Regions from separate parts of the Homo sapiens genome. Here region 2 is linked to region 1. Evidence: promoter capture Hi-C in human tissues and cell types (Jung and others, 2019). All regions are on one chromosome and are shown on one strand. The core of a region is centred on a gene start or on the middle of the fragment in contact, and the rest is flanking DNA. Distances in the headings are between cores, read along the strand shown.

Region 1 (4,362 bases), core at 1,863-4,362:
GCTGAAAGTGAGTTGGCCTCTGTAAAACCACCCTCAGCTTCAGAGCCAGGAAAGGCTGCCTCCCTCCTCCCTTTGCCCCAGCCTCCTCTTTTCTCCCTCATGTAAAATCCTAGAGTGCTGTTGCTGGAAGGAGCCTCAAAGAGCTCCTAATCCAACTTCACATAGGCACACTGAGCCCCAGATAGGGGATGTGACAGCCTCGTGGCTGCTTTGGTGCACCAGCCCTGAATCCCAGCCCTCCCAGGCCCTGTCCAATGTACTTATTTGCCACCACTCCATGCTTAACTGTCTCTGCTCCTGCTTCTCTCCTCCCCACCCCTAAACCCAAACTCAGAATGGGATTTCTCTGAGAGATAGAATTGAAGGGCAACAATTCCACTTCTTTCCACCTCTTTCCCTCTCTGGGTTTGAGTGGGACCCTGGATCCTCCCTCCCAGCTCTTGGTGGGACCCTGGGACTCTGAATTTTATCTCTTCATATGGGAAGAAGCAAAGGTGTGTTTGGGGGTTGGGTTTGCAGGGCAAAGGGGTTTGAGAGACAAAAAAGTTTCCATCATTACATGAAGAATTTTTCTGCTTTGTGGCTGGTTATGTGACCACAGTGGTATCAGCAATTGACCTGGGGGCTGGGGGAGGTAGCGGGCTAAAGAGGACAACTAGGGTGAGGCTTTACCTTAATGTCTCCTTCTGAATGTGTGTTTCTTTACCTGTACATCTGTCTCCCTGTCTGTTTCTCTGTTCTCTATTTCCTATAACTGTCTCTCTGTATCTCTGTCTCATCCTCTGTCTCTCTCATTTGTATCTGTCTCTTGCCTCTATTTCTGTCTCTGTTTCTTTCTCTCTGTCTCTCTCATCTCTGTCTCTCCCACACACGCTAACTCCTACAATCCAACTTCAATAGCTATTGACTGACCCAGGGGCCCTAACCTGTTTCTGCAGCCCTATCAGGGCAGCAGCTCCTTCACACTGCTAGATTGAGAAATGCCAGGTCCGGAGCTGCTGCCGGGGCGCCAGAGACGCTGCAGAAGCGCCTGCCGAGTGTGGAGGCTGAATCCAGGAACAATGAGAAATTATCTGTTAATTCTCGGCTCCTGCCACCTGCTCTGCTCCAAACAAGCTCCTTTGCCTTCAGTTTAGATGCAAATTCCCCCACTCGATGTAAGCAAAATATTGATTTCCCTGCATCACAGGTCTGGGCCCTTGGAATGGTCCTGTGTTTTTTCATTCTCTGCAAAGGCAAAACAAGGTGCTTTGTTCTGTGAATTTCCCCCAGGAACTCGCGAGGGGGAGGGAGAAATAGCAGGGGAGTGACAGAGTTGCCATAAACACGGGCAAAGAGCAGTTCTCCATTTGTATTTTACATAAACACAAACCTGCCACTTGGGAAACTGCTAATAAGCGTTTAGCCAGAGGCTCTTCTGGGTGCTGAGATCTGCATCGGGTGATGGAAAAGAAATTAATGGGGCCTCTAGGCTCCTCAGGTGGGTTTTCAGAAGCACCAGGAAGGCGCATAGGGATGCCAGAGCCCCACTTGTTCTTGGAACAGCAACCAAACACCTCCAGCAGGAAGGCAGCCCGGATTGCACAGTATCGCCTGCGTCGTGTCTGCTTGGTCCCTGCCTGAGTTCCTAGCCTTCTGCTATCACAGGCACAGGGGTCAGGGTGGAAGCTGCGAACCTTCAACAATTGCCTCTCCCTCGTCCCCTAAACTTATGCCCACGCGATGGTAGCACCAACTGGGTCTTCAGCACCGTGGACAGAGCCAGGGGGCGCCTCACGGTGGAAAAGCCGCCTGGCTGGGCCAGGGTCCTCACAGGCCTTGCCTTAGCCCTTGGTGCCCCAGGCACCAGCTGCTAGGGGATCGCAAGTCCAAGGGCCGGTTGGCACAGATGGCGCGCAGTGGAGACCGCCAGGAGCTAAGGCTCCGAATCTCCTCCCTCCGGAACGTGAGTCACTGCCCGAGTCACTTCCAATAAGCGTGTTAATTAAGAGGCAAGACCTTTCTCCCTCGCCAGCCACTCGGGCATACACCAACCCAGCAGCCTCCAGGGGCTGCAGCTAAAGCTTCCTTCCCAGCTCCGGGAGAGCAAATGGACCTGAGTCTGGGGCTTCAGGCGAGCCCCACACAGAAGGGGCCCCACCGCCGACAGGTGTAGATCAAGAGACTCCCGAGATAGGCCCCTGCAGGGCGCTGGTCCCCCGGCCTCCCTGACCATGGCTCACAGACTTCCAGCGCTGAGTGAGGCAGCTCGAAGCCTCTCAGCCGATCTGTTCCTGGGCCTCACTCCACAGTTTCTGAGGGGATCTCTACTTTAAGTCTAGCCTCAATCCTCCCGTTGAGCTTTCTGTCTTTCTTGTTATGCTTAGCAGAAAGATACATGATCTCTGGTGCTGTTTCACCGAAGCAAGGAGGTGGGTCGGCGGAACTGAGCGCCCTGCGCCCTCTTGAAATGACCCCCCATTCCTGTTTGCCAGAAACTTTTCCCTCCCGTTGCCATGGAGAGAGACGGCCGCTGCCTCCCGTCGCCATAGCAACATGCGGGTACCGCGGACCGCAGGATTGCGGAGCTCGGAAAGTCTTGCAGTTCGCATCGCCCGCCTGTCTTGGGGTCTTCTACCTCCGAAGCTGGGACTCGGGGGCCAGTCTAACTGCTCCCGTCAGGAACCTCGGCCAAGGTCCTCCCAGACCCTGCCTGACCGTCGCTCTTTCTGTTACGGGGTTATCTATTTCTCTGTCATTCGTGTGGCATGTGGCAGTTTACCCAGTGTTTTCACAAACACGATCTTTCTATCCCCAGGGAGTCCGTGAAGTACTTAAAATCATTACACCTCCTTTACGGAGAGGAAAATTGAGGCTCAGAGACGCCCAAGGTCACACCAGGCAGTGAATGCGGAGTGGGAACCCGGACTCTTTCCTGGCCTTGCACCCTCCGAGATTCGGGACAGCCCGGCTTCCCGCCTCGAAACCCCCACCCCCCGGACTCAGGCCAGTCCCTGAGTGTAGAGGGGGCGGCCGCGAGGCGCCAGACTCGCCAGCTGCCGCGGGATGCCACGTGAGGGGCGGGGACCCTGCGGGGAAGTGATTAAAAGCAGAGCGGAGCCGCAGGGGGCCGCTGCAGGGAGGGTCTTCTTGGGGCCGTCGTGCCCCGCCCCAGTGCGGCCGGGGCGCGGGTTCGAGCTGCTGCTCGGCAAGCCTGGGTGTCTAGGGCATGAGCGGAGTGTGGGGGGCCGGCGGGCCTCGGTGCCAGGAGGCGCTCGCGGTCCTCGCCTCGCTGTGCCGGGCCCGGCCGCCCCCTCTCGGGCTGGACGTGGAGACTTGTCGGAGCTTCGAGCTGCAGCCCCCAGAGCGGAGTCCCAGCGCGGCAGGCGCAGGTAACGGGAGACCCAGGGCCCCCTCCCTTCCTGGATATCCGTCCTGCGATCTCCCTTCCCCAAAGCCCCGGTCCCAGGAGCCCCAGAACCTAGAGAGAACTCCCCAGCTCGGGATTCTGGATTGGGAGCCAGCCTCGTCCAGCCCTCTGGCCCATCGCTTGCACAGCCAGGAGAGACCCGAAGGGGAGCGGAGGTTGGGGTAGAAGCCCCCGGCCCTCCTGTATTACTACTGCGGAATGCGGGGGACCCCGCAGACAGCCAGGCTCCCAGGACGGGGCACCCTTGGGGCTTCAGTTTCCCTCGCATCTCCAAGCTCGCTCTGCGGGCGATTTGCCAGGAGAGGGGTCCATGGAGAGAGCGGGAGACGAGGGGCGCCCGGCTGAGGAATAGGGCTTGCCTCCTAGCGAGTGTCGAGGTCCCCGGGTCCGTGCGTCGGTCTGTCCGTCCGTTTGTGTGTTCTCGCGGTGAACGCGGGCGGACCCCCAGTCTCTCCGGGAGAAACTTGGGTCTGCGGCTGGCACGAGGTCTTTGTGTCCGGGTGTCTCTCCGGCTGCGAGTGGTTTTCCGCGTCTCCGCTGGGGGGCGGGGGACAGGGGGCGGGGTGGGGGAGGGTATGAGGGTGTTGCGGCGTCCTTCCCCCACCCCCTCTCGCCCCTATAACTCGCTCCCTCCGTCCCTCTCGGACTCGGACTCGGGGCCGGTGCGCGACTGAGCTGGCGCCTCTAGCCGACTTTGCCAAGAGGGCGCCTCCTGCCCGATCCGCGCTGACCCTGCGCGGGACGCAGCCCCAGGCGGCTGCCTAGCCGAGGCGGGAGCCCGAGCTGAGTCGAGCTCGCCGGAGCGGGTGAGTCCCGAGCCCGATCCCCGCCGGGCTGGACCCTGGCGCGCAGCTGCGGCGTCTCCGGGGAGTCGCGGCAGGGGGAATGGCGTGTCGCGCCCTGGCGGCGGGAGCTGCGGGAGGGTCGGCGACGTGGCGGCCGGCCCAGGGTAT
Region 2 (4,362 bases), core at 1,142-3,641, 1.4 Mb after region 1:
TGGCCAGGCGTGGTGGCTTACTCCTGTAATCTCAGCACTTTGGGAGGCTGAGGCAGGTGGATCACCTGAGGTCAGGAGTTGGAGACCAGCTTGGCCAACCTGGTGAAACCCCATCTCTACTAAAATACAAAAATTAGCCAGATGTTGTGGCGGGCACTTGTAATTCCAGCTACTCAGGAGGCTGAGACAGGAGTATCACTTGTACCTGGGAGGCAGAGGTTGCAGTGAGCCGATATCATGCCATTTCTTCTACCCTGAGCAACAGAGCGAGATCTCCATCTCAAAAATAAATAAATAAATAAATAAATAAATAAATGTTCTAGTTTTAGTTATTTCTTTATAGCAATGCAAGAATTGACGAATGTAACATGTTTCATTGAGCTCCTACTACATGTCAGAGACTTTCTCAGGTTCTAGGAACAGGATAACTCTGAGATGGTCTGGTGAATAAGCAGGCAATGTACCAGGTAACACTTTACCCTCACAACAGCCATGTGAAGTAAACCTGCCTGAGATTCTACTTCCTGATTTATCAATTAGGAAACTGAGGCCCAGAGAAGAGCATAACTTGTCCAAAGGCATATCTAGATCCTGCTGGTGCCAGGGCCCACAGTAATGTCCCACCATCAACTTTCCGGCCATCAACTTTCCATAGAGACAAAAATTATGCCAATCCCAGAGCTGACAAGAGTTAGCAAAGGAAGCTGACTGGGAGCGGTGGCTCACACCTATTATCCCAGCACTTTGGGAGGCTGAGGCAGAAGGATTGCTTGAGCCTAAGAGCTCAAGACCAGCCTGGGAAAAATAGTGAGACTTTCTTTCTACAAAAAATAAAAAATTAGCCAGGCATGGTGGCATGTGCCTGTAGTCCCAGCTACCCAAGAGACTGAGTTACCCAAGAGACTGGGAAAATTGCTTGATCCCAGGAAGTCGAGGTTGTGGTGAGCTATGATTCCAACACTGCACTCCAGCCTGGGCAACACAGCAAGACCCAGCCACAAAAAGAAAAAAAAAAGAATAAAGGAAACCAACTGGCCTCAGAATGTATTAAGTAGAAGGAAGAGATGGTCCTTTGAGCCCTCCAGCAATAGTCTCCAAGCAGCAGAGGTAGGAAGAATAGGCAACTGAGTTTGGATGTCTCTAGGCCTAAATCCAAGAAGGCCTTCTTTTTTTTTTTTTTTTTTTTTTGAGACGGAGTCTCGCTCTGTCACTCTGTCACTCAGGCTGGAGTGCAATGGCACGATCTCGGCTCACTGCAACCTCCGCCTGCCAGGTTCAAGCGATTCTCCTGCCTCAGACTCCTGAGTAGCTGGGATTACAGGCATGCATCACCATGCCTGGCTAATTTTTGTATTTTTAGTAGAGACGGGGTTTCATCATATTAGTCAGGCTGGTCTCAAACTCCTGATGTCGTGATCTGCCCACCTCGGCCTCCCAAAGTGCTGGGATTACAAGCGTGAGCCACCGCGCCCCGCCAGGCCTTCATTTTTCATCTTACATCCCTTCTGCTGTCTCCAGCCCCTCCAGTAAAGCTTGACTCAGATTTCCTTAGACACAAATTAATTTGTTCTGAGAGGAAATAATGGATCGTTGCGTTCCCTTTGTCATCCTGGCTCCCTCCACGGCTCCCACTTGCTTCCTCCACACATAGAAATGAAGGGACAGAGGGGGATAGAAACCAGCCTGCAGATAGGCTGCTACTGACCTGAACGTTCCTTATTGAAATCTCCCCTCCAAATGTGGCTTTGGGGCTGAAAGATTTGGGGATAGAAAGCTTGCCGAAGCCTCTGATGAAATTCAAACAGCTGTGGGAGGTGGCTTTAACTGGACATGCTGAATAGGAGCCATTAATAATCCAGCATTTCATTAGGCAGAGCCAGATGTTGGGGGTAGTGGGAGGGGCGTGCTGTGAAGCAGGAATGACAAGAGATTAGCCACTTCTTTTTCAGGAGTGGGAAGCACAAGCTTCCAGGTACAGCAAGAAGAGTCCAGGCAGAGTCAGGAGCATGACTATGGGTACCCCTGTCCAGATAGTCAAAATCCTTAGCTAGAGAAGCTGAATAACCTACTGATTCATACATCCGCTGGCCAAATCTTTGCTGTGTACAGACCAGCAACCAGGCACAGTACTCAGTGCTAGGAAGCAAGGTCAATGAAACACAATCTTTGTAATCAAGGGACTTATAGTCTAGGAGAGGAGACAGACAGGTTAGCTAATGAGTGAATAGAATATCATAAATCTATCCTGAAAGGCTGTGTAGTGCACAGTGAGGACACAGAAGCAATGGCCAGTTCTACTCGGGATGTCTGAGATGTTACAGTTTAAGAGGGTGAGGCTTGAAAGATGACTAGGGTTTGCTAGGCAGAGAGGGAGGAGAAATGTCCCAACATTAATAACAGTGATATCTGCAACATTTACTGAATGCGTATGCCAGGTGTGACTGTAACAGCTTTAATTATATATGTGTGTGTGTGTGTGTGTGTGTGTGTATGTTTTGTTTTGTTTCGTTTTTTTAAGATGGAGTTTCACTCTTTCGCCCAGGCTGGAGTGCAATGGCATGATCTCGGCTCACTGCAACCTCCGCTTCCTGGGTTCAAGCGATTCTCTTGCCCCAGCCTCCCGAGTAGCTGGGACTATAGGTGCCTGCTACCATGTCCAGCTAATTTTTGTATTTTTAGTAAAGATGGAGTTTCACCATGTTGGCCAGGCTGGTCTCAAACTCCTGACCTTGTGATCCGCCTTCCTCAGCCTCCCAAAGTGCTGGGATTACAGGAGTGAGCCACTACACCTGGCGATATATTTTCTTCATTTAGTGTTCACAGTGACCTACACAGTAGATTTTATTATCTTTGTTTTGCAATTGAAGAAACTAGGGCCCAGAGTGGTTAAGAAACTTGCCCAAGGCCAGTTTGGGGAACTGAGGTGACATAGTGGGACTTGAGAAGCCAGAAAAGTGGGCAGAATCTGGGCATGAAAGGCCTCAGCAGTTTTGCTGAGCAGTGTGGATTTTACCCTGCTGGGCAGGGAATGGCAAGACCTGATTTCTGCTTTCCAAGATCACTTTGGCAGCTATTTAGAGGTGGAATTGGAGGCAGCAAGGCAAGGAGGCCAATTAGACGGAAATGTTAATGGTCCATGGGAGAGACCATGAGCTTAACACTAAGTCACCGACATTAGCAATGGAGAAGACTTCAACACTAGAAGATAAAATGGGCAGGAATTTCTGGCCGCCCAAAGGACAGAAGAAAATGCTTTGTAGAGTCACACAGAGCTGAATTTGAGTCCTAATCATGCCGCTTACCAGCCGTGGGCAACTAGTGCTTTTATAGTCTCTCCATATGTAAAATAGAGAAAATAATATAAGAGGTGATCCCACTAGATTGCATAACTCTCCATCATAATTTTCCACTTGAGTGTGAGCTCCTTGAGGGCAGATACTGTGCCTAAATAGTCTTTGTACTGCTAGCACCCAGCACTGTGCCTGGATCCCACTACATGCCCAGTGCTGCTTCTGTGAATTACCATGAAATGGTTAGGGCTGAGCAAAGGGAGGACTCAGGATGACATCAGGTTTCTGCCTTGGCTGACTGGTGGGTGGTGCCATTTACTGAGACAGAGGGTGTGGAAGGAGTAAGGCACATTAGAGGGGGAGGATCATGAGCTTTGTTTTAAACAGAAATAGGTAGTGGTGGTTACTGTGACAAGAGTCAAGGGAACAGTCATGGGAGTGAGCAGGTAGCTGAGAAGGAGTAGGAAGCTTTAAAGTGTTGGAGAAGTTGTCCATACGGATGTTGAACTTTCTTTTTTCTTTTTCTTTTTCTTTTTTTTTTTTTTTGAGACAGAGTCTCGCTCTTCGCTCTGTCACCCAGGCTGGAGTGCAATGGCTCGATCTCGGCTCACTGCAACCTCCGCCTCCCGGGTTTAAGCGATTCTCCTGCCTCAGCCTCCCGAGTAGCTAGGACTACAGGCACCTGCCACCATGCCTGGCTAATTTTTGTATTTTTAGTAGAGATGGGGTTTCACTGTGTTAGCCAGAATGGTCTCGATCTCCTGACCTCATGATCCACCCACCTTGGCCTTCCCAAATGCTGGGATCGCAGGTGTGAGCCACCGCGCCTGGCAGATATTGAACTTTCTTAAGACAGTCACTCATTATCTTTCACCTCAACATGTGAAAGTGTCTTCCTAATGGCCTTCCTTGACTTGCTGCCTCCAATTCAGCCTCTATACTTCTGCCAAATTGATCTTAAGAAACAGAAACCAGGTCATGCCAGAACCATGTGGACTCTGGAAAGCACTGAAGACTATGAATAATATGCTGCTATTTTGTATAAAAAGTTAGAGGAGGTATTGTGGATTGA

What was found. Contacts are between HindIII fragments. The study calls those that stand out against the background at their distance.
Region 2: a fragment that was not itself captured here is called in contact with the fragment with the promoter of SYT6 in region 1 in 1 of the 25 tissues and cell types used here (pancreas).

Annotation. Positions count from the first base shown.
Region 1 is chr1:114,152,619-114,156,980 of GRCh38, reverse strand. It overlaps SYT6 (synaptotagmin 6), which reads left to right and starts at 3,112. Exons shown (of 8, transcript NM_001253772.2): 1 at 3,112-3,371. The coding sequence starts at 3,209. RefSeq lists a silencer at 100-394 and an enhancer at 1,324-1,937. The HindIII fragment of the contact is 10,069 bases long and covers 1-4,362 here.
Region 2 is chr1:112,777,588-112,781,949 of GRCh38, reverse strand. No RefSeq gene overlaps it. Among named protein-coding and RNA genes, the nearest start is that of NUTF2P4, 32 kb to the right of the region's middle. The HindIII fragment of the contact is 4,043 bases long and covers 370-4,362 here.